7 separate regions of the Homo sapiens genome follow, and all the other regions are linked to region 7. The links are contacts of gene promoters, found by promoter capture Hi-C in blood cells and fetal thymus (Javierre and others, 2016). All regions are on one chromosome and are shown on one strand. Each heading gives the region's core, a stretch centred on a gene start or on the middle of the fragment in contact. The rest is flanking DNA. Distances are from core to core; before and after follow the strand shown. Region 1 overlaps LINC01339 (long intergenic non-protein coding RNA 1339). Region 2 overlaps LINC01339 (long intergenic non-protein coding RNA 1339). Region 3 overlaps LINC01339 (long intergenic non-protein coding RNA 1339). Region 4 has its middle 91 kb from the start of MIR3660. Region 5 overlaps LINC01339 (long intergenic non-protein coding RNA 1339). Region 6 overlaps LINC01339 (long intergenic non-protein coding RNA 1339). Region 7 holds the start of MEF2C-AS2 (MEF2C antisense RNA 2).

What was found. The method cuts DNA at HindIII sites, captures the fragments that hold promoters and counts their contacts. A CHiCAGO score of 5 or more calls a contact.
Region 1: a fragment that was not itself captured here is called in contact with the fragment with the promoter of MEF2C-AS2 in region 7 in 1 of 17 cell types (M0 macrophages); the score reaches 5.1 in M0 macrophages.
Region 2: a fragment that was not itself captured here is called in contact with the fragment with the promoter of MEF2C-AS2 in region 7 in 1 of 17 cell types (neutrophils); the score reaches 11.8 in neutrophils.
Region 3: a fragment that was not itself captured here is called in contact with the fragment with the promoter of MEF2C-AS2 in region 7 in 1 of 17 cell types (neutrophils); the score reaches 10.8 in neutrophils.
Region 4: a fragment that was not itself captured here is called in contact with the fragment with the promoter of MEF2C-AS2 in region 7 in 1 of 17 cell types (neutrophils); the score reaches 7.2 in neutrophils.
Region 5: a fragment that was not itself captured here is called in contact with the fragment with the promoter of MEF2C-AS2 in region 7 in 7 of 17 cell types (naive B cells, monocytes, neutrophils and 4 more); the score reaches 14.5 in naive B cells.
Region 6: a fragment that was not itself captured here is called in contact with the fragment with the promoter of MEF2C-AS2 in region 7 in 4 of 17 cell types (monocytes, neutrophils, naive B cells and 1 more); the score reaches 7.6 in monocytes.

The regions. Positions count from the first base shown.
Region 1 is chr5:90,248,282-90,250,981 of GRCh38, forward strand. All of the region lies in intron 3 of LINC01339 (long intergenic non-protein coding RNA 1339), which reads right to left. Among named protein-coding and RNA genes, the nearest start is that of LINC01339, 40 kb to the right of the region's middle. The HindIII fragment of the contact is 541 bases long and covers 1,137-1,677 here.
Region 2 is chr5:90,225,213-90,227,912 of GRCh38, forward strand. The region is part of intron 3 of LINC01339 (long intergenic non-protein coding RNA 1339); the gene reads right to left. Among named protein-coding and RNA genes, the nearest start is that of LINC01339, 64 kb to the right of the region's middle. The HindIII fragment of the contact is 1,737 bases long and covers 536-2,272 here.
Region 3 is chr5:90,285,754-90,288,453 of GRCh38, forward strand. The region is part of intron 1 of LINC01339 (long intergenic non-protein coding RNA 1339); the gene reads right to left. Among named protein-coding and RNA genes, the nearest start is that of LINC01339, 3.0 kb to the right of the region's middle. The HindIII fragment of the contact is 6,899 bases long and covers 1-2,700 here.
Region 4 is chr5:90,106,419-90,109,118 of GRCh38, forward strand. No RefSeq gene overlaps it. Among named protein-coding and RNA genes, the nearest start is that of MIR3660, 91 kb to the left of the region's middle. The HindIII fragment of the contact is 7,922 bases long and covers 1-2,700 here.
Region 5 is chr5:90,268,960-90,271,659 of GRCh38, forward strand. The region is part of intron 1 of LINC01339 (long intergenic non-protein coding RNA 1339); the gene reads right to left. Among named protein-coding and RNA genes, the nearest start is that of LINC01339, 20 kb to the right of the region's middle. The HindIII fragment of the contact is 8,813 bases long and covers 1-2,700 here.
Region 6 is chr5:90,170,530-90,173,229 of GRCh38, forward strand. The region is part of intron 4 of LINC01339 (long intergenic non-protein coding RNA 1339); the gene reads right to left. Among named protein-coding and RNA genes, the nearest start is that of LINC01339, 120 kb to the right of the region's middle. The HindIII fragment of the contact is 1,184 bases long and covers 783-1,966 here.
Region 7 is chr5:88,674,812-88,677,568 of GRCh38, forward strand. It overlaps MEF2C-AS2 (MEF2C antisense RNA 2), which reads left to right and starts at 1,407. Exons shown (of 4, transcript NR_146284.1): 1 at 1,407-1,452. The region is part of intron 1 of MIR9-2HG (MIR9-2 host gene); the gene reads right to left. RefSeq lists enhancers at 379-478, 916-1,481. The HindIII fragment of the contact is 5,913 bases long and covers 1,295-2,757 here.

The sequences.
Region 1 (2,700 bases), core at 157-2,656, 1.6 Mb after region 7:
TTCTGTCTTGAATTTTCCACTTTTATATTTCTATTCTGCCTTCTACACTGCCACCTGAGTCTTCCAACCTTCTTTCTTGGTCACTAAATCTCAACTCAAGGAGCCTCTAAATCATTCACCTATTTCCTGATTTTTTGCCTCTTCCTACAAAAACACCTGTAAATATCAGCCCACATAAATTTCTGTTGAATTTTATTGTGTCAGATGCTTCCAGGAAAAAAAATATGCTTTTGCATAATCTTGAATTTTTGTGTGATTTGGCAAAGTTTTTACCTTCTTTTTGGCTTATTATACTAATATGTATATTGAGGTTAATTAAAAAATTAACTTCACAGAGTTGTGAGCATGAAATGAACTAACATAGGTTAAGCACTTAAAAGAGTGTTCATACACAGTAAGCACTATGTATTATTACCATTACACACAATTTTAGAAGTTATATTTTACTATATTTTAGTTCAATGTTTAAGTGCAATAATTTTAACTATACTTAGCAAAACACACTAATTCCCACTTAATTAGAAAATGTGCTGATTATACAAATATAAATATACACTATAAAATTCTAGAGAGCCCCAGGAGACACAAAGAATCTGGCCTATTTCCAAATGGAATCTGCTTCAACACAGCAGCCTTGCTGAGGCAGTCAAACGCAGTCACTAAGTATTAGACTAGGTAGACTCTGTGCTGGCTCCATTGACATTCACTGGAGTTTTGGCCCAACTAAGGTAGCATGAACCCTCCAATTTGGTGGCATCATCTGAAGTTCACTCCAGACTACAGGATGTGAAAAGCCATTTACTGTGCTTTCTGGAAATTTCAATCTCATGGGAAAATGATTTATTATCTAGGGAGTTATTCTGTGCATGCCATATTATTGTCGACTTTAAAGTCCACAGAAGGTAAGAAATCACTTTAAGGTCTTACCTGCATTAAAATTAACCAGGGTGCTTCACTTTTTTCTCTATCTCTCAAAGCTGTGTTTTAAATAGACAAGGGGGTGGTAAGGATACAGAAAATAAACTGAATTTATTTACTGTTCACAATAAACTGAACAGTCATGAACCTCATTTTACTAAAGCCACTGGCAAACTTCCTTAGTAATTGCCCACCCAACATCTCTTTCTTGACTGATAAGCTTATCCACTTTTGCAAATGTCCTAAATAGAATTCTCACTGTATGGCTGAGGTCCCTACATCATGTACAACACTTCATTCTGAGATTCTCAGAAAAGGAGCAGGTATGTCCCAAGCCCAGCTAAGACTGGCTGTGAACGTGGACACAGAGTGTGGAATGAAAAATACTGGAGACTCAGAGGGGTGAGGGGGGAAGGAGAATGTGGTGATGAGAAATTACTTAATGTGTACAATGTACATTATTTGGGTGATGGATACACAAAAAGCTCAAACTTCACCACTACACAATATATTCATGGAGCAAATTTGCATTTATACCCCTTACATTTATATAAATTCATATTTCCTTCTTATACCTTATATACATATAAATACATATTATATATAATATATGTATTATATAAATATATATATTATATATATATATATGGTATAAGAAGGAAATATGAACTCTGCAAAAGCAACAAGACATACATCCCCAGAAGAGAGATGGTTTAAGGAGGTGCTGTATCTCATGTTCCCAGTATGGGCACTGGGAGAAGCTTGGCCTTCAGCCGGGGCAGAGGATGAGAGGAAGAGGTATGGATTATTAACAACAGTAGAGTGACTAAGAAAGAGGTATTGGGAGCCACACAACAGTCATGGCTTTGGATAGCTGTCAGATAGGAGAAAGATGGTTTCTTGAGCTTTTGGAAAGGAAAGTTAGGCTTAAGCAGTAGAACAAAAAAGCATAAGGATTTAAAACACAATGAAGAAAAAATCTGTTCTTACATCCACCCTTCCTTTTTCTGTCGTCTCTTCCCTCTCAAGGCCTATTCTTACCCCTTACTCCAATAAGTCTTCTCTCTTTCTTACTATATCTCTTTTCCCTCAATGTCTCAATGTTTCTTATTTCTTCACTGGACATGATATACAATTGTATTTTTGTATGATTTATGACATTTATATGTATGTTTCTCAGAAAATATATTAAGCTGCTTGAGGGGTTTTTTTTGGGGGGGGGGTTAAGTCTTTTCTTTCTCTCTTTTTTTTTCTTGGCTGATGATTATTGGTTCCCCATAGAAAAAAAAAGTTACCCACCACTCTGAGTAGTTCCTTTGCTAAAGCAGTAAATTGTATGACATAATCACCAATGTTTTAAAAGGACATGCAATTTATCCGAAGAAGTTAGTTGATTGAAGATGTGAATTAATGTACAGAAAATTAGTCTTTTGGATGGTTCACTCAATCAGAGAGAGTTACAAAGTTGTAGAGGCAAAATGATTTCATTGACAAGTCAAAGATATTATCTCCATTTCTTCTAACTGGTTATTTTTTAAGAGAAAAAAAACTGATTTTGATCACACACGTACGTATGGGAGTTCACAAAAAAATGTAACTCAAAGGAGCAGTTAGAATTGGAACTTAAATACTATCTTATTAGATGAAGAAGGAGAGGGATAAGGGAATTATGGGAAAACAAATGACTCTTATGAAATCGAAATAGAGACTAGATTGGAAGATATGATAGTTTTTGTGATTGTGTCTCCTTGGGTGTAGTTTGGAGACATTGTCTTTGGTAAT
Region 2 (2,700 bases), core at 154-2,653, 1.6 Mb after region 7:
TGATGGACATTTTCTCATACATCAGCTCCTCATATCCACGACTGTGTGTAAGAAATGCTCTTGTGGCTCGGCACTGTCCCAAAAGACCAACACAAGCCAGGCCAGCCAACTAGCTTCTCCTCCAAGGAGAGGCATTCAACACCTCCCTTCATCTCATGCGTTCATTCAGGAATAGCTTTTGCACAGAAGGCACTAACCAGATCCTTTGAGTCCAAAGTGAGCAGGTGATCTCATGATGTCAGGTTTGTTTGTTTTTTTTTTCCAGACAGACAGACAAATTAGTGCCCAAATTCTGGCTCTTCCGTTTGTTAATTGTCTGGTCATAATCAAATATTTAGACTTTTCCACATCACTCTCTTCTGTAAAATGTAGATAAGGTTTGCTTTATAAGGTTATTTTGAGAATAAGAAAAGAAACAAGAAGCATTCATTCATCCAATAAATATTAGTATTTGTTGAGTACCTACTGTGTGTCAGAAATTTTCCTAAACATTAAGAAAAAAGGTAATGTAAATAACCATCTGGTTCGTGGTAGAAGCTTACTATAAAAAGATTTCCACTCCTGTCCTTCTTTTTATGACTGTGAACATTGTCTATTGTAAATGAACAACAAATTTAGTTATCATTATTTCTCTTTTTTGTGTTTCTTTGTTTTATAGAAAGCATAAGAGAAAAAATCTTTATAGATTGCATTTATACACTGAAATTATTAGGGCTTATTCCTATGAGAAAACTCAGGTGGCTTTTTTTTAAATAAGTATGTCTCAAATATTCATTATTGATCTGAAAAACACATAAGAGAAAAATATCTCAGATGTGCTACTGGGTGTGATCAAGATAGCTGTCAGTGAGTAAATATACTCTCTACTGCATCCATTTTAAATAATAGTATACATGGCAAATACCTTTGACATTCTTAGTATGTCAAAGATTTTTGTAGGCATGAAACTAACATTTTACATATGCGGATGGAAAGGTTAAATCATTTTCCCAGTCACTAATCCATCAGTGACATAATTACCAACCAAACCTTAGGCTTCTGGTTCCCTGGTCCTCCTGCCTCCTTTTCTCCTTCAAAAAACATTCACCCACAATGATATCTACTTGCCTTTTACTCTAATTTTAAGAAAGTACACTGGAAAAAAAAGTATTACTAACATTTTCCTTCAAATCAAATTAATCAGAAAATAAAATTAAAGCACATTTATTTAGCAGAAAGCTACTCTTTCCATTAATGAGAATTTTATTAAATATAATAAAACATTTCAGGCAATTTCTTTCTTCCTGGTTTTTTTTTTCCTCTTCCTTTTTCAGATTTATTGAAAAGCATTTTTATTAGTGCAATAATAGGCTCCGGGACATGCAATTATATTGAGATGCTGACACTTTCCTGTTAGTTGCAGCCTTTGGCCTGAGGCCAAACACTGAACCCAAGCATATGAGTTTCTCTGCAAGCAGCCCTGGCATGGCACTCGCATGCATTTGTCCTTACAGCAACCTCCAGTTTTCAACCACTACAGAGAGAATTAACTAATTTTTCCCTCCTATTACAACTGATCCAAAGAGATACTTCCATCTCTTTTTAGAGAAACCCAAAAGTTCCTTATGAAATTTTTGTAGAATGCAGAGTTAGAGACAGATTAGAAACTTTCAACTTCTGTTTCATATGGGGAAATACCATAAAGGGTTTCATTACTTTATGAGGCATTTACACACATGAAATGCAAATGCTTGTGCCTTTGTCATGAGTTTTCTTTATAGCTTTCACTCCTGTATATTTTTTAATTGTAAATCCTCCCCTTTCCAAGCTCTGAGCCAAAGCATTTCAGAATAAAACTGTAGATATCAACTATAAATAAAATACAGATTCAAACCTCTGCAACTTTTTAAAATTTGTAAGGCAGGAATAAACCATCCTTTAAAAAGGAAAAAAGAAGCCACCAGAAAATGCTTCTGAATTCACTCCCACTTTCTATGTAAAGGCACTGAGTTTCAATCTTTAAGGAGTTAAATCTCTTATCTGGATTCAGTGCCATGGAACTTCCCCACATATCCCAGTCTCTTTCATAAAGCATTGTATACGTTATTAGAATACCCATGTAAAACCTTAAAAACTTTGTTTTTAAGTTACATACACACCATACATACACACACACACACATACACACACACACAACTAAACTACGCCCTCTAAAAATGCTTCCGGCCTGACTGTGAACAAAAACAAAGGGGTCTCTGCTACCCCTAGCTCTGCCCTGTGACTGTTCCAGCAAAGCTTGGTAGTGTTTTAGGCATCACTTCCTCAGCAGGGAAGTGGAGTTTAGAGATATTAATCCTTGTGAACTGAATTTGGTGTGAGAAACTCCTGGGGGAAATCCCAAACACTTGTGCTGCCTTTGAACTACAGTCCCCCAACACTGACTATATCTCCCCTTCCTTTCCTGCCCCCTAGGATCATCCTTGCTTTCCTGGGCCCATTTCAGTCTTATTGGTTTGGAATCTGGACTGCAGCGTTTTCTTTTCCAAGTCCTGGCTGGGCTCCTTGGAAGCAGAGTGCCCCCACCCAGCCATAAAGATTATTGTGAGCACTTTGAAACTGATGCCAAACCAAATCAAGCCCAGTGGACACAGTCCCTTGCACACTGACTGGATTCCTGCACGCCCTCCTTTGGGTTGGCCCTACAGCCTGGTGCCAGGCCAA
Region 3 (2,700 bases), core at 166-2,665, 1.6 Mb after region 7:
AACCAGTATGACAATGGCTAAAATTGCTCAGAAGGTGAGTCAGAGCACCATGCAAGTCAACGTTGGGATGTGTCTAAATCAGTGATAGAGCTGTAACTCACAAAGTCAGCTGTGAGGATTAAAGAAAGAAAATAAGATAACCTTGGTAAGGAACATAGTACACTGCCTGGCACAAACCAAAGCTATTTGTAAGTGTTCCCTATTCTTATTATCATCATATTCATTACCATGTCTACTTGCTCATACATTAGCCATTTCAACTTTTCTGCCATCTTACCAAGTCAGGTCAGGCCACTATTGTTCCTCACATGGATCACTCCAATAGCTTGCTTTCAAACTCATTCTCTACACTGAATTCTTCCCTTCCCACATGAAAGCATTTAATGATTCCACCTCTGGTTAGTTGTGTATAATTTTGGCTTTGAATATGGTTCATTGTGTACAATGCTTATAAGGTTAAAAGCCAGACATTATTTATACCAGTCAAAATACATAGAAAATACCGTCATTACCACCCAAGATAGTGATAGAGATGGCTTAAATATTATGCGCTTAAAATGCCAGGTAAAATTAAAATATCATCCAGAGTAATTATAACTTTAACTAAGGAGTCACCTGTCAGGTAGGATCTCCAAAATACCAAAAACTATATTGAGTGGGGAAGGTGAGGCTGCATCTGCTCAGTGGAAGATCTAGGGAGAGCTAGAAATACCAGCTGGAGCCTCTGATCACTTTAAAGTACAGCCTTCAGTAAAACCTCTCCAGAGTGAAGTTCCGTTGACAGTCATAGCTCTCTGCTCCCGCCAACCAAGTCTAGAGCACCGGCCCAACTAGGACCCCAACTTCCTCATCAACAGTGTAAGAAGTGAAGCTGGGAGAGCCACATAAGCAATAGAATTTCTAATTAACAGCGGGGCACGGTGGCTTACGCCTGTCATCTAATCACTTTGGGAGGCCGAGGTGGGCGGATCACTTGAGATTAGGAGTTCAAGACCAGCCTGGCCAATATGGTGAAACCCCCTTTCTATTAAAAATACCAAAATTAGCCAGGTGTGGTGGCACACACCTATAATTCCAGCTACTCAAGAGAGTGAGGCGGGAGAAGAGCTTGAACCGGGGAGGTGGAGGTTGCAGTGAGCCAAGATCATGCCACTGCACTCCAGCCTGGGTGACAGATCGAGATTCTGTCTCAAAAAAAAAAAAAAAGAATTTTTAATTAAAGACCCAAAAAGTCTTCTCTTTTTATTTTGAACTTAGTCCTGGCTAGCCTGTAGGTAAATACCTACCATAATAAAGGAACTTAAATGGCATAGTCTGCAAAACCAAGAGAAGTACAAACATAATAGAGTCACCTTCTAAATAAAACCCTTCTAATGATTCACATTGCCTTAAGATAAAATCACTCCATGTAGAGCTTTTTATGATTTATTATCTATACCCTCTGAAATTCCTCCAACCTCATCTCTCATTACAACCCACACTCACTCAACACTCCAAACTTAACCACAGCTTTTGAAATCCCTTGAGTGGACTATGCACCAGCTCATCTTTGGGTCTTAGGATATAGGCTACTCTATCTGCCTAGAATTTCTTCCCTCCCTGCTACCAATTCATTCTTCAGGACTCAGCTGAGAAATTATCTTCCATGGCCGGGCACAGTGGCTCATGCCTGTAATCCCAGCACTTTGGGAGACCAAGGTGGGCGGATCAACTGGGGTCGGGATTTCAATGACAGTCTGACCAACATGGAGAAACCCCGTCTCTACTAAAAATACAAAATTAGCCGGGCATGGTGGCGCATGCCTGTAATCACAGCTACTCGGGAGGCTGAGGCAGGAGAATCACTTGAAGCCAGGAGGCAGAGGTTGCAGTGAGCCTAGATTGTGCCATTGCACTCTAGCTTGGGCAACAAGAGCGAAACTCTGTCTCAAAAAAAAAAAAAATTATCTTCCGAAAGATGCCTGTCCTAAATACCCTATCCTGGGTTTTGTGTCTCTCCTAAATGTTCCCACAGCACCCTGTATCTATGCTTAGTAAACCACTGCCTGTTTTTGCACTCCACACAACCACACTAGATTGTGACCTGCCTGAAAGAAAATACAGTGATGTCTTCATTCATCTCTTTTTTCTTTTTTGTTTTAAATAATTTCAACTTTCATTTTAAATTCATGGGATACAAGTGCAGACTTGTTACATGGGTATATTACATGACACTAAGGTTTGGAGTACAGATGATCTTGTCACCCAGTAGTGAACATAGTACCCTACAGGTAGTTTTTTACCCCATACCCTTCACACACTCTCCCTCAACCCCAGTAGTCCCCAGTATCTGTTGTTTCCATCTTTATGTCCATGTGTGCTCAATGTTTAGCTCCCACTAAATAAGAACATGCTGTCCCTGTGATTTTTGCTTAGAATAATGGCCTCCAGCCTGGATCCATATTGCTGCAAAGGACGTAATTTTATCTTTTTATGACTATGTAATATTCCATGGGGTGTATGTATGGCATTTTGTTTATGCAATCCACCATCATTGGGCACTTAGGTGCTATTGTGAATAGCACTGGGATGAACATACAAGTGTGTATGTCTTTTTTGTAGAACAATTGATTTTCCTTTGAGTATATACCCAGTAATGGGATGGCTGGGTCGAATGGTAGTTGTATTTTAAATTCTTTGAGAAATCTCCAAACTGCCTTT
Region 4 (2,700 bases), core at 175-2,674, 1.4 Mb after region 7:
AGTTACATTTGAATGCACTAGGCTGTAGTGTCTCAACTCTTTTTTTCCCCCGCATTGTATTCCACATATCAGATGATGCTTATATAAGCTACACAATTCCATGGAAAAAGTTTGTTCAAAAAACAGGTTTCAAAAAAGGAAAAGAAAAGAAAAATCAGAAAAATATTGTTTTTTTTTATGTTAACATAGAATTCAAAAAAGTGTTTTTAAAGCATGAGAATTAAATCATATTTTTAAAGATCTCAAAAATTATTCTTAAAAAGAAATAAATGTGGCTAATATTGTCTTTAGTATGAAACATTTCTTAAATATGAATTTTGAACTTTCTAGAATTCAACAAATATCAATGTTAGTAATTATAATACTAAAGGATATTTGTAAATAAATATTTTTATTACAATATATAGAATGTACAGGCTGTAACCTCTTTTTATATAAAGAGCATCATTCTTCTCAATAAGACAAATATGTATTTAATATTGTAAGCACCCTTGCTTTATCTAGTCTCATCTTCTTTTCATTAAAAACTTATTCATGGATAAAATTTAAAAGACAATGGAGGTAACTGTTACGTCAAAATTTACAACTGCTACAAAACTGCCTTAAGCACACACTGTTAACCTTGTGGTAATAGTGACCACTCACTAGAGGGTACTGAATCCGTGTAGTTCTACCTATACATTCAAGCTCTACCTATAACTTCTGTTGCTCCTCTCAAAACATGTCAGAATGTACCTGAATGCAAGAGATTTCACTGTGGGAATAACACTGAATCCTTTTAGATAGATGAAAAGTTGTCATTCCTGAAGGTATACTTTGACTATTATTAGTAATAGTGTACTTGCTGCCCTGCTCAAAGATACAGATATTGTGGTAGCTGCCTCAGTTGAGAGCATTGTCACGAAACTGTTAGCTCCTTGACTTTCCAGTATTGGGTCCTATTCATGTCTCCACCAGCATGTGGTACAAGTAGGGCACATTGTCAGCATTCAATAATTGTGGGTGAAACTCAACTCCACTCCATTAGGTGAACCTACCATTGAAGAATGGTCTCCCTTAGTTAATTGCAAATGAATCCTGCCAAACACAATTTCTTCCTCCAGACTGGCTGTCAGCACTTTTAATCCATAGAAAAGTAAGCATGCTTACAAAGGAAAAAAACAAAAACAAAACAAAACAAAACAAAAAAAAAACAGCTTACTTTCATAAAGTTTTGGAATGATTCATAAATTTTTTATAAATATGTGATATTTTGGTCTTCTGCATTTTGTCTTGTCTTTATCGAGATTTCATCAATGCAGAGAGAGTGAGGTGGTTGCTTACATTTGAAAGTTTTGTGTTTGTAAATGTGTATGTGTTAGAAAAAGCATTGTCTAAAAATGTCTCTGGAAGAAATCCAGTAATAGAAAGATGTTGATTCTATGTGAACAATGACATGACAGGTACATCTTAAAATGTGAAATTCACAATTTAAATCCTGATTCTTGAGGAAGAGATTTTGTTTCCAACCACGGTATCCCAACTTCTCACAATTAAGATTTCCAAAATAACTTTTTAAACCTCTGGAATTTTAATAAATGGGCCCTTATTCTTCAATCCTTTTTCCCATTCAAGAAACAAAATTTTCAAATCCCTTCTCTATCTCAGTTGAATGCCTACAATAGTCAATACATAATATTAATTCACCAAATGTTTTAAAAACTATTTTAAATGTTTACAAAACTTTGCGAAATGAATAAAGCTACTTTTTCTTTTTTAAAACACATATTTTACCTTAGTGAAAGTATGTAAAACACCCCAAAGGGAGCAGCAGCTATTAGATCACACTGAGATAGTTATGTCCAAAAGTAGTATGACTTTTTTCCCCCTTTTTTGGCACAACTGAGTTGGAATGACTATTAAATTATGATAAAATAAGGTAACATTTTATAAAATTCCCAATTTCATACAAAGCAGCATTTCCTAAACTTCCACAATCTCAATTGCATATTAAATTTCAATGTCAGTACCAGGTTAATTTTCTAAAAACACTCTTTAGAAAAGAGGTTTATTGAATGTCTTTTATGTGTTCAGCATTATGCTAAGCAATTTTCATATATTATCTAATTTAATTCTCACACTATAAGATAAATACCATTAAAGTCCTAATTTTACAGCAGAGAAAAGGAGGTTTGGAGAGATTAAGAGATTTATCCAAGGTAACACAGCTGTTGCATGGTAGAACTATATTTTAAACACAGGCCATTTTAACTTCAAAACCCAAACTACTAACCATCTTGCACTCCTCTGCAAAAAAAAAAATCAGTTTGGGTTTCCTGTTACTTATTGGACAAAGAAAGAGCTTATAAAATCTCAAAGTTAGAATCAATTTTGTTGATCCTTTTGTTCCCTATAAGTTTCCTCCCTCTTCTCTGATGGATCTAAGACTAGTGTAGATACTAAAGTGCTAAGGTTGATGGGGGCAAGAATAGTGTCTTACTTCTGACTGTTACTCCTCATCACACAGGACTTTGCCTTTTACACAATAAAAGAGCAATTGATGTTTGATTCACATTCTTTTTTCTACTTTTCAGAGTAAGGCCTTTTACAGTATAAGCCATATCTGAGCTTATTCAAGGTTGTGTCTTAGTCAAGAAATACAGTTTTATGGATCACCGAATATATGCTTTTCTGATTTTCTCATTCAAGAAATTTTTGAAT
Region 5 (2,700 bases), core at 10-2,509, 1.6 Mb after region 7:
AACGTAATATTAATGTAAACAGCTAAAAACTAACCTCCTGTGAATACTAAAGCAAATAAATTATAATCTATTATTTCAGGTTTTCTGTTCTACAACTGCATTTTTATTTATACCTTTTCATTTCAAATGTATGTGCATAAAGTATTTTTATCCCTCAGTAAAAATAAAGCTAGATATTTTCTGGTAAACAGGTAAAACAGCAACTCTGTTTTACCTGTTTCTAAAATCTTCTCTCTGATGTTTTCATCACGGGTATCTTACATAGACTCTAGAAATGCAAAGGCAATACAAATGGTACGTAAGAACCTCCATTAATCTTTGTTTCAAGGAGAATGTGAACATTCTCTGTACAATTTAATATTCCGTGTCCACCCACAAAATTCTACAGAGAAGTGTGTGTGTGTGTGTGTGTGTGTGTGTGTGTGTGTGAGAGAGAGAGAGAGAGAGGGAGAGAATCGGTAAGTTTGATTTTAGTAGGAAATTAGTAAAATATGCATATTACAAATAAAGAGAGTACAAGTCCCCATCTGCCATTTATAGTAAGATTTTATATTTCAGAGCTTAATAATGAACCTCCCTGGGGAAAATTTAATAAAGCAGGTTCCCTGGTATTGCCAGCAGTTGGGTTTTTCTGCATCTCTTATTTTCTTACTCCCCAGGGGGAAAAAAATCTCAGTAAGATTTGTGAGCCTGTATCGAAGATAAATCTAGTGTAGTCTGGACTATACACCACCCAAACTGATCCAGATCTCCCACCCAACCCACTGTTCGTTACTGTTTATAAAGTGCAACATGCCCTGTGAAATGATAGGTTGGAGCATTCTCTATCTGTCCTTACCACAAGAAGTACAAAACCAGTTTAGAGTAACTGGAAATTGCAGTTTCAAATTTAAAGAAACACCAGTTATGTATAGGGTGGGTTAGGGATGGGGGTAGTTCTTAACTGTTCTTTTCTCCTACAGAACACTGAGCGTCTAAAACATGTTCAATCCTGTTAATGCTTGTCAAAAATTTCACAGTTCAGCTTTGTTCAGATTTTTTACTGACTATGAAAAATCAATTTGGTGGGATTCAGATTCATAAAGATGGAAGAGCTGCAAGAGACCTTAAATAACCTTGTTCTACCAAGTCTATAGGTAAAAACTGAGTCCCAAGGAAATTAAGGGACTTGCTCAAGGTTTCACATGTCCAGATTGGAACTCAAGTCTGCAGGCGTCCAGTCTATCATCCTTCCCACTGCTCATTTCATCTATTATTATACTTTAGTAATTAAACAATTTAGAGAAGCTATACAATGTGATTTCACAATTAACATAAAGCAGTCATATTATATCCAGGGTTGTGTAGAATTTCATCTGTGCAAAATTTCACTTGGTATTTAGTCATTACACTCAAATAGTATCATTATCTTTCAATTACAGAGATCAATTTTAGTTCATTAGCAAAATAAAATGCTTGCAGAAGGTCCACACAAATTCTTCAAAGCTGCAATCTTCTAAATGTCAGAATTGAAACACATTTTATAAAAAAAAACAAAATGTGACAAAAGTACTTGAGGTTAAACCACAGCTGTGCAAGACTCAGTGCCCTGCGTGATCATAAATCTGCTAAAAAGGCATAATTCAAAGTTCTGTAAAGGAAAATGTGTGCCATTGCCAACTAATAATATTGCCATTTTCCCCATTTCTTGGATTTTGCAGCTTTTCAAGAAAGATTTGGGTCATAGGATATTGTGACACAAATAAAGTATTATGAGTACAGATTCAACCTAAGATGACCTAGAGGCTGCATAAAGGGAAGATTAGATTAATGTTTAAGCCTTGCAAGAGGATTACTATCTATAGGCAAAAACAATGGCCCAAACAATATAGCTATTAGAAATGATGGTAACCTTATCAGGCTTTCTAAACTGAGAGCCTTAATTGCTATCCAGACAAACCCCAGTCAGCTAAACAGAGCTACCAGCAAAGGGGCAATATTATCAAGTTTAAGTTGATGCTAATATCCTTTTGATAAATCTGTGTTGATATAACTTGGGAGAAGTTATTTACAAAATATATATAAAGTTGTTGCTCCTTAATATGTTTAATTATTGTGAGGTTATCATACTAGAGTTTCTAAGATTATATCGATATTTCAGGTTTAACTTGTTAGAATATGTAAACCAAAACTACAGCCTTTGTTTTTCCAACATATTTTTATACTGTTGTACTTTTTTCTAAAGAAGGAAGTGATGATTTGCTCATACTATGATGTGGCCACACTGATATCACAGCTAATGATCCTTGTGGCACAAATTAAGTTTGCAATAAATGAGATTCTTTTTCTACTAATATGATCAGAAATTTAATACCCAAAAAGATGAAAGGTTTTCAATTTTACCTTTGTACATAACCCTTTTCAACATAAGTAAACTCTTCATAAATTTTGTTATGAAATTTAAATAATACATAGTCTTCTTTGTGATTACTTGTTTCATGGAACCCAAACCCTAAAATTCTCAATTACTAGAAATTCAAGAAGTTTATCATGTTAAACAGTTTACTAATACAGTAGAAAGATTAGAAATATCATTTTGTGCCATACCAACCAAGGGTAGTGGTATTCAGCGAGCCTGGATGGTAAGTAAAGCAGGCAAGCAAGTAAATAGAAATTAGGGGTGCACTGAGAGTTGTCCCATAAACATAAGTGAAGGCTAGG
Region 6 (2,700 bases), core at 125-2,624, 1.5 Mb after region 7:
ACCTGCCTCCAGCAATCTCATTGTTAGACCCATCAGCTGAGGATTGCTGATTTACCATCCCAGAATGACGATTTAGAACCTAGTGCCAGGATTGCTGCCAAGTTGAGAACAAGGATTTCATGTAGAAGAGAGCCCACTTGGTACTTTATATTAATGCCAATTGAAATATGCATGAATAGACCAGAGGCAAAGCGGTTGTTCAGAATCAGACTATCAGTGAATGCTTCTTAGGTTCTTTTTTTTTTCTTTTTGGTCCTAGAGCTAGGATTTTGATGCTGAATAATTTTAATTGACCAGAGACAACAGACACAAACTGGCTGAAAATGCTGCATGGTAGAAACTTAAACAGACACCCAAATAGAATTGTCATTTTAAATAGACACCTCTGTAAATCTGTACTTAATCTCTCTCATATGTATTCAGTATTTCGTGATGTTTCAGCAAGTATTCATCTTGCTTGTCTTTTTCTTTGCCTCAGTTCTCTCATCTGAAATACCTAACTAATGCTTTGGAGCAGCAATGTTAATTGAGGACTGTGAAGAATAAAAATTCGGTAACAGCAATGGATGCTCAGCTACAGACTACATTTCTCAGCCTCTCTTGTAGCTAGGTGTACTCATATGACGAAGTTTGGTCTCACAGGATGTGAGTGGAAAGGATGTGTACAACTTCCAATGCACCTTTATGCAGATGGTTTGCCTTGAATTTTCTCTGTCCCCCTGTTGATGGCTAAGAAGTGATGATAATTTTAGCAACCTTGGGTAAACAACCTTGGGTGATAAAGCTTTCCTGACAGCCTTGGATCATTCATCTATATACTCTTCCATGAGAGAAATAAACTTCAATCACTGTTAACACACTGTGGATGAGGGCTACTTTGTTAAGCTGTACCTCAACTAATAAAAGCAAAGGGAGCATCAATAAGTTGCATCTACTCTTGTGCCCAGAATTTTGTGTATATCTTTTGCATCGTTCAGTTCATTAGTAAACCAAACTGAAAGTAACTTTAACTTTGGCTAATCCTTATTTTTGCCAATTCTTGAACTAAACTTGTCTTTAATATCAAACTTAGTTCATGGGCTCTGTTCTGCAAAATAAGGAAGATGAGGCTGTTGAAGTTGCAAAATCCAGTGGTTTAAGGTTCTGAACTTTACTATGACTGGAAGTAGACCAATCTGAAATATGTTTCTGGCATTGTATCCAAAGAAGTACATCTGTAAATGCTGTTTCTATAATTTCCCAGATAGAAAAGTTTTGATACATGTATTTTCCTTATATAATAGTTTCTTTGCAATATTTTAAATTCCTATCTGTCCACTGGCTTCTTCCTTTGGACCCTTAGTCACTCAAAGGTCTATTTGAATTTATAATATCTCTTAACTGGATTCTTCTGTTCCTCTGATAAGATTTGTTTTATGCATCACTTTCCCTACCCAAATTTCTCAGTGTGGTCTAGGACAACTGTTTCTATGCCTATATTCTCATTCTCTCCTTAAATCCCTAAACCTGTGTCTGCTTCATCCCAATCTACTACAATTTCACTTAAAAGATAATCACTCTATTTTCCCATTTCTTATGTTCCTAGACTATTTACACACTCAGCAAACATTTATTGAGCCTCATCCATGTGTCATGAAATAGGCAGATTAGAATACAAAGCACAGTGCTTGAAGATCTTCACAGTTTTATAACATTGGACCGTTTTAAAGAATCTCCTTGAACTTCTTATGATTTCCATGGAAACACACCATTCTTCTTCTCATCCTACTGTTCTGATTATTTCATTCTTTTTCTGGGCTGATCCGCTTTCAATACCCCTTAATAGAGGTTTCCTCCAATGCTCAGTACCAGGTCCTCTGCTCTGCCTTTGTACTCTCTCCTTTTGAAATAGCATCAGTTGTTCCAGCTTCACTGACTGTCTTTTGTAAGTGATTTTCATTTGTCTCTGGGCATAAACTTCCACCCAAGCTTCAGTTTCATTGTCCCAATTACACTTTATTGCCTCAACCCATGAAATCCCAACATGTTTAAAACTAAACAAATTTCTTTACCTTACATATACTCCCATTCCTATGCCTCATCTAATATATTCCTCTGACATATTCTCCTACATACATGTACATCAACTTTCTTGTCTTGCTCTCTCTTTCTGGGTTAACCAAGCCTGCCTGGACAATAGTAAAAACAGAAGTTCCAATCCAAGCAATCTATTTCCTTGTCTGCTTTAATTCAGGCCAACTCACTCATAGTAGCAGGCAAACAGGCATTTACCTTCCCTCAGAGCATGGTGTCTTTTATGCAGTGCCAAATAAGTGGGGGAACAAATGAAGAAATGTCAATAAGCAATTACATATGTACTAACAACGTTAACCTGACAAGTATTTGAGGAAGAAGTAATATGCTTAGTCTCCAAAGAGTTCTCAAATATTCAGGCTTGGATAAAAATATTTATAACAGAAAAGCAACAACAAAAATCCCTCTAATTTTTGTTCTCTCATTTTCTACACTCATGATGTTGAACAGACTTTCCTCAGGATGGCCCTATAGCACCGTCTACCCCAGAACCAAATCAGAGAAGTACTCCTGGTTCCTTCCATTTCCACTGTACTTTAAAATGGGAAGCTACGTTTCCTTTCCTTTCCTTAGCTATGGTTGATATTAAACCTACCCGTCTATTATCCTCTTATTTTTGGTTCTACT
Region 7 (2,757 bases), core at 157-2,656:
CTTGCCTGCTCGTAGATCTGCCCTCCGGCCCAGAAGAGGCCGAGGACCATTTCTTAGCTGCCCCAGAGGAGGGGGCGAGCAGAGGAGGGGGCGGATGTGCACAGGGAGGTGCCAGCGGTCCGGTGCGCGGGCACGCACACGCCGGCGCGCAGGGCTGCCGCGGGCGGAAGGAGGGGAATGACAAGGCCTCGGCCGCGTCTCGGAGAGGCACTACCTCCGCGCTGAGGCCGCTGAGTTTCAAGTGCAAAACACCAGGCCAAATCCGGCAAGGCGGCGGCTACAGAATGGCTCACACTTCAAGCCTCCTTCCTCAAACAATCCGATGGGAAGGACCTGGCTGTTCAGGGGAAGCCTTTGCTGGCCTCTCTTTTTACATGGGGTGAAGTCGAACCCCAATCTAGGAGCCCTGGCCTAGATGGCTCCGCAGATGAGTCCCAGACGTGGCCATGGAAAGACTGATCTCTCTCTGCTCAGAGCGCCTGCCTCGGTGCTCACTAGCGCAAGCACCTCCCAACACACATACATACATACACACACACACACAACACAGCACTCCCATCACATTAAAACGCGCGCTCATGATCCTGCCGTTAATGAAGCCGAGGCGCATAATGAGTGCACAGGTAAATAGGTACCGAAACCAGAAGACTTCACCAGTCGGCTGGGCGATTTACCTCTCCCTACAGGGAGCACTTGTAGTTATCGTGTTTTAGGAGTGATTTGCTGTTGTCTGTGGTCTCTCGCTCCTCTTCTTGTGGAGAGAAGCCAAAAAATATATATGTTCCGTGGTCAGAGTCTTCTTTCTGATAAGCTACCCGAGCATTGGTCTAAAACATCTGTTTTATCTGTTGATTTTGGTTTGTTGTTTTGGGGAGTGTTGCTTTTCTGAGGGAAGCAAAAGAACGTGTGTGTGGTGGGGCTGGAAGCTCAGGGCAAGAGTCTGCGTGTGCGGCCGGAAGGCTGGCGAGTCTGAGAGCCGCGCGGTGCAGAAAGAAGGCGGCGGCTTGTCCTCCCCCGGGGCCGGCACTGGTCCCTTGGCACCCCGGCCTGGGCTCGGCTACTGCCGCCGCCGCCCGCGCTCTCGGGCTCCGCCGGCTGCCGCTCCGTGTTTTCCCCCATCCCGGCTTCACGTTCAAGGTTTAGCTGCGAGGTCACGTCCATTGACGTCAGCTCCCTGTCTCCCTCTACGTCCGGCTACATTTACATACATCAAGGAAATTAGGGCATTAAAAAAATATGCAAATCCTGCGCGAAGAGGAGCGGGTGCATTCCTGGCGCGATCGCCTTTTATTGAAGCTTTTAATTAAAGGGGCCAGTTGGCGAGCCCCTGAAACAACCGCCAAAACCCCCCAAAAGAGAAAAATAAACGCTGTAGCCTTCGAGAACGGTTGTTTCGGCTCCTGTTCTGTGGGCGGCTGAGGACCGCCGGCTGCCCGGCTCGGAGAAGAACAGGTTAGAGGAGGCAGCTCCAGCCCATGCATAATCAGGGCTCCGCGGCGCCTCCATTCTTTCCTCCTCCTCCTCCTCCTCCTCCTCCTCCTCCTCCTCCTCCTCCTCCTCCTCCTCCTCCTCCTCCTCTTCCACCTCTCCTCCTCCTCCTCCTTCTCCTCCACCTCCTCCTCCTCTTCTTGCTCTCGCTCCTGTTGGTTCCAGCGTGTATTATTTTTAATACTGATGCATATGTAAAGGTATATTTGCATTTTTTAATTTGCGAGAATTTCAGATTTTGTCATTTTATTGGTTCCCTTTCCCTCTTTTTTTTTTTGGAGGATTTTTATTGTTGTTATTTTATTATGTCTATGTGTCTCTCTTGTCCCTTTCTGTCTTTTTTGGCGAGTGTCTGCTGCTGTCTCTTGCTAGATAATATACACAGTTACCTCCCTGCTTCTGTTTATTTAAGGTTACAAATATGCACATCTGTCATGTATGCAATGCCAGCTGTATAACCTCCTGGTTTGGTCATAAAGGAAAATACACATTTTTTTTTCTTTCTTGACATACCTTGATGGGCTGTAGTGCCCATCGCTCAAGGCTCAAAGTTTGATTGTCTAATTAACTTCATATTAGCAGAAACACAGTTCGGGGCCAGTGCTTTCGAGATAATGTATGTATAAGTGAAGTGATTCCAAAGATTTCTAAATAATTTTTGTGCTGATTGCCTGAGAGGTGCGGCATTCCCCGCCCTATTGCTTTCTAGCATTTCTTATTGAAAAAAATATATATATTTTAAAATGGGTAGACACAGCAATGGACAGCCTTCTGCAAGGAAGACATTTTCAACCATGTTGTATGTTGTACCTTATTGGCTGCATTCAAAATTTACTGAGTTTCATTTTTATCTTAATATGGCTGGAAACAAGGCACATTATCTTGACTGAAAAGCATCCTTGATTCCTGACTTTGAAATGAAAGCAAATACACAAATAAAACAATTGGCTATATTAAACCAGTTGATGTGGCTTAAAATATACAGGCCTTGAGTTAGATTTCAAGCAATGGTAATCTTGTTTATAGGATCGGATTCTCTTTCTTGGCAATATAGCTATGCAGCACGATGGCTTTTTTCCACCTTTTAATTCCCCCAAGCTATCATTTAAAAAAGACTCAATCTATAATTGCAAACCCTGAAAGAACAGCAAGTATGCACACATGCAGCTTATTCAATTAAACAAGTCCAAGTACATGCACAGGTAATTAGTTTTCTTATGAATGACTTACCTGCACAGATACTCAGGCCAAGACTCAGCCCTCCCCAAT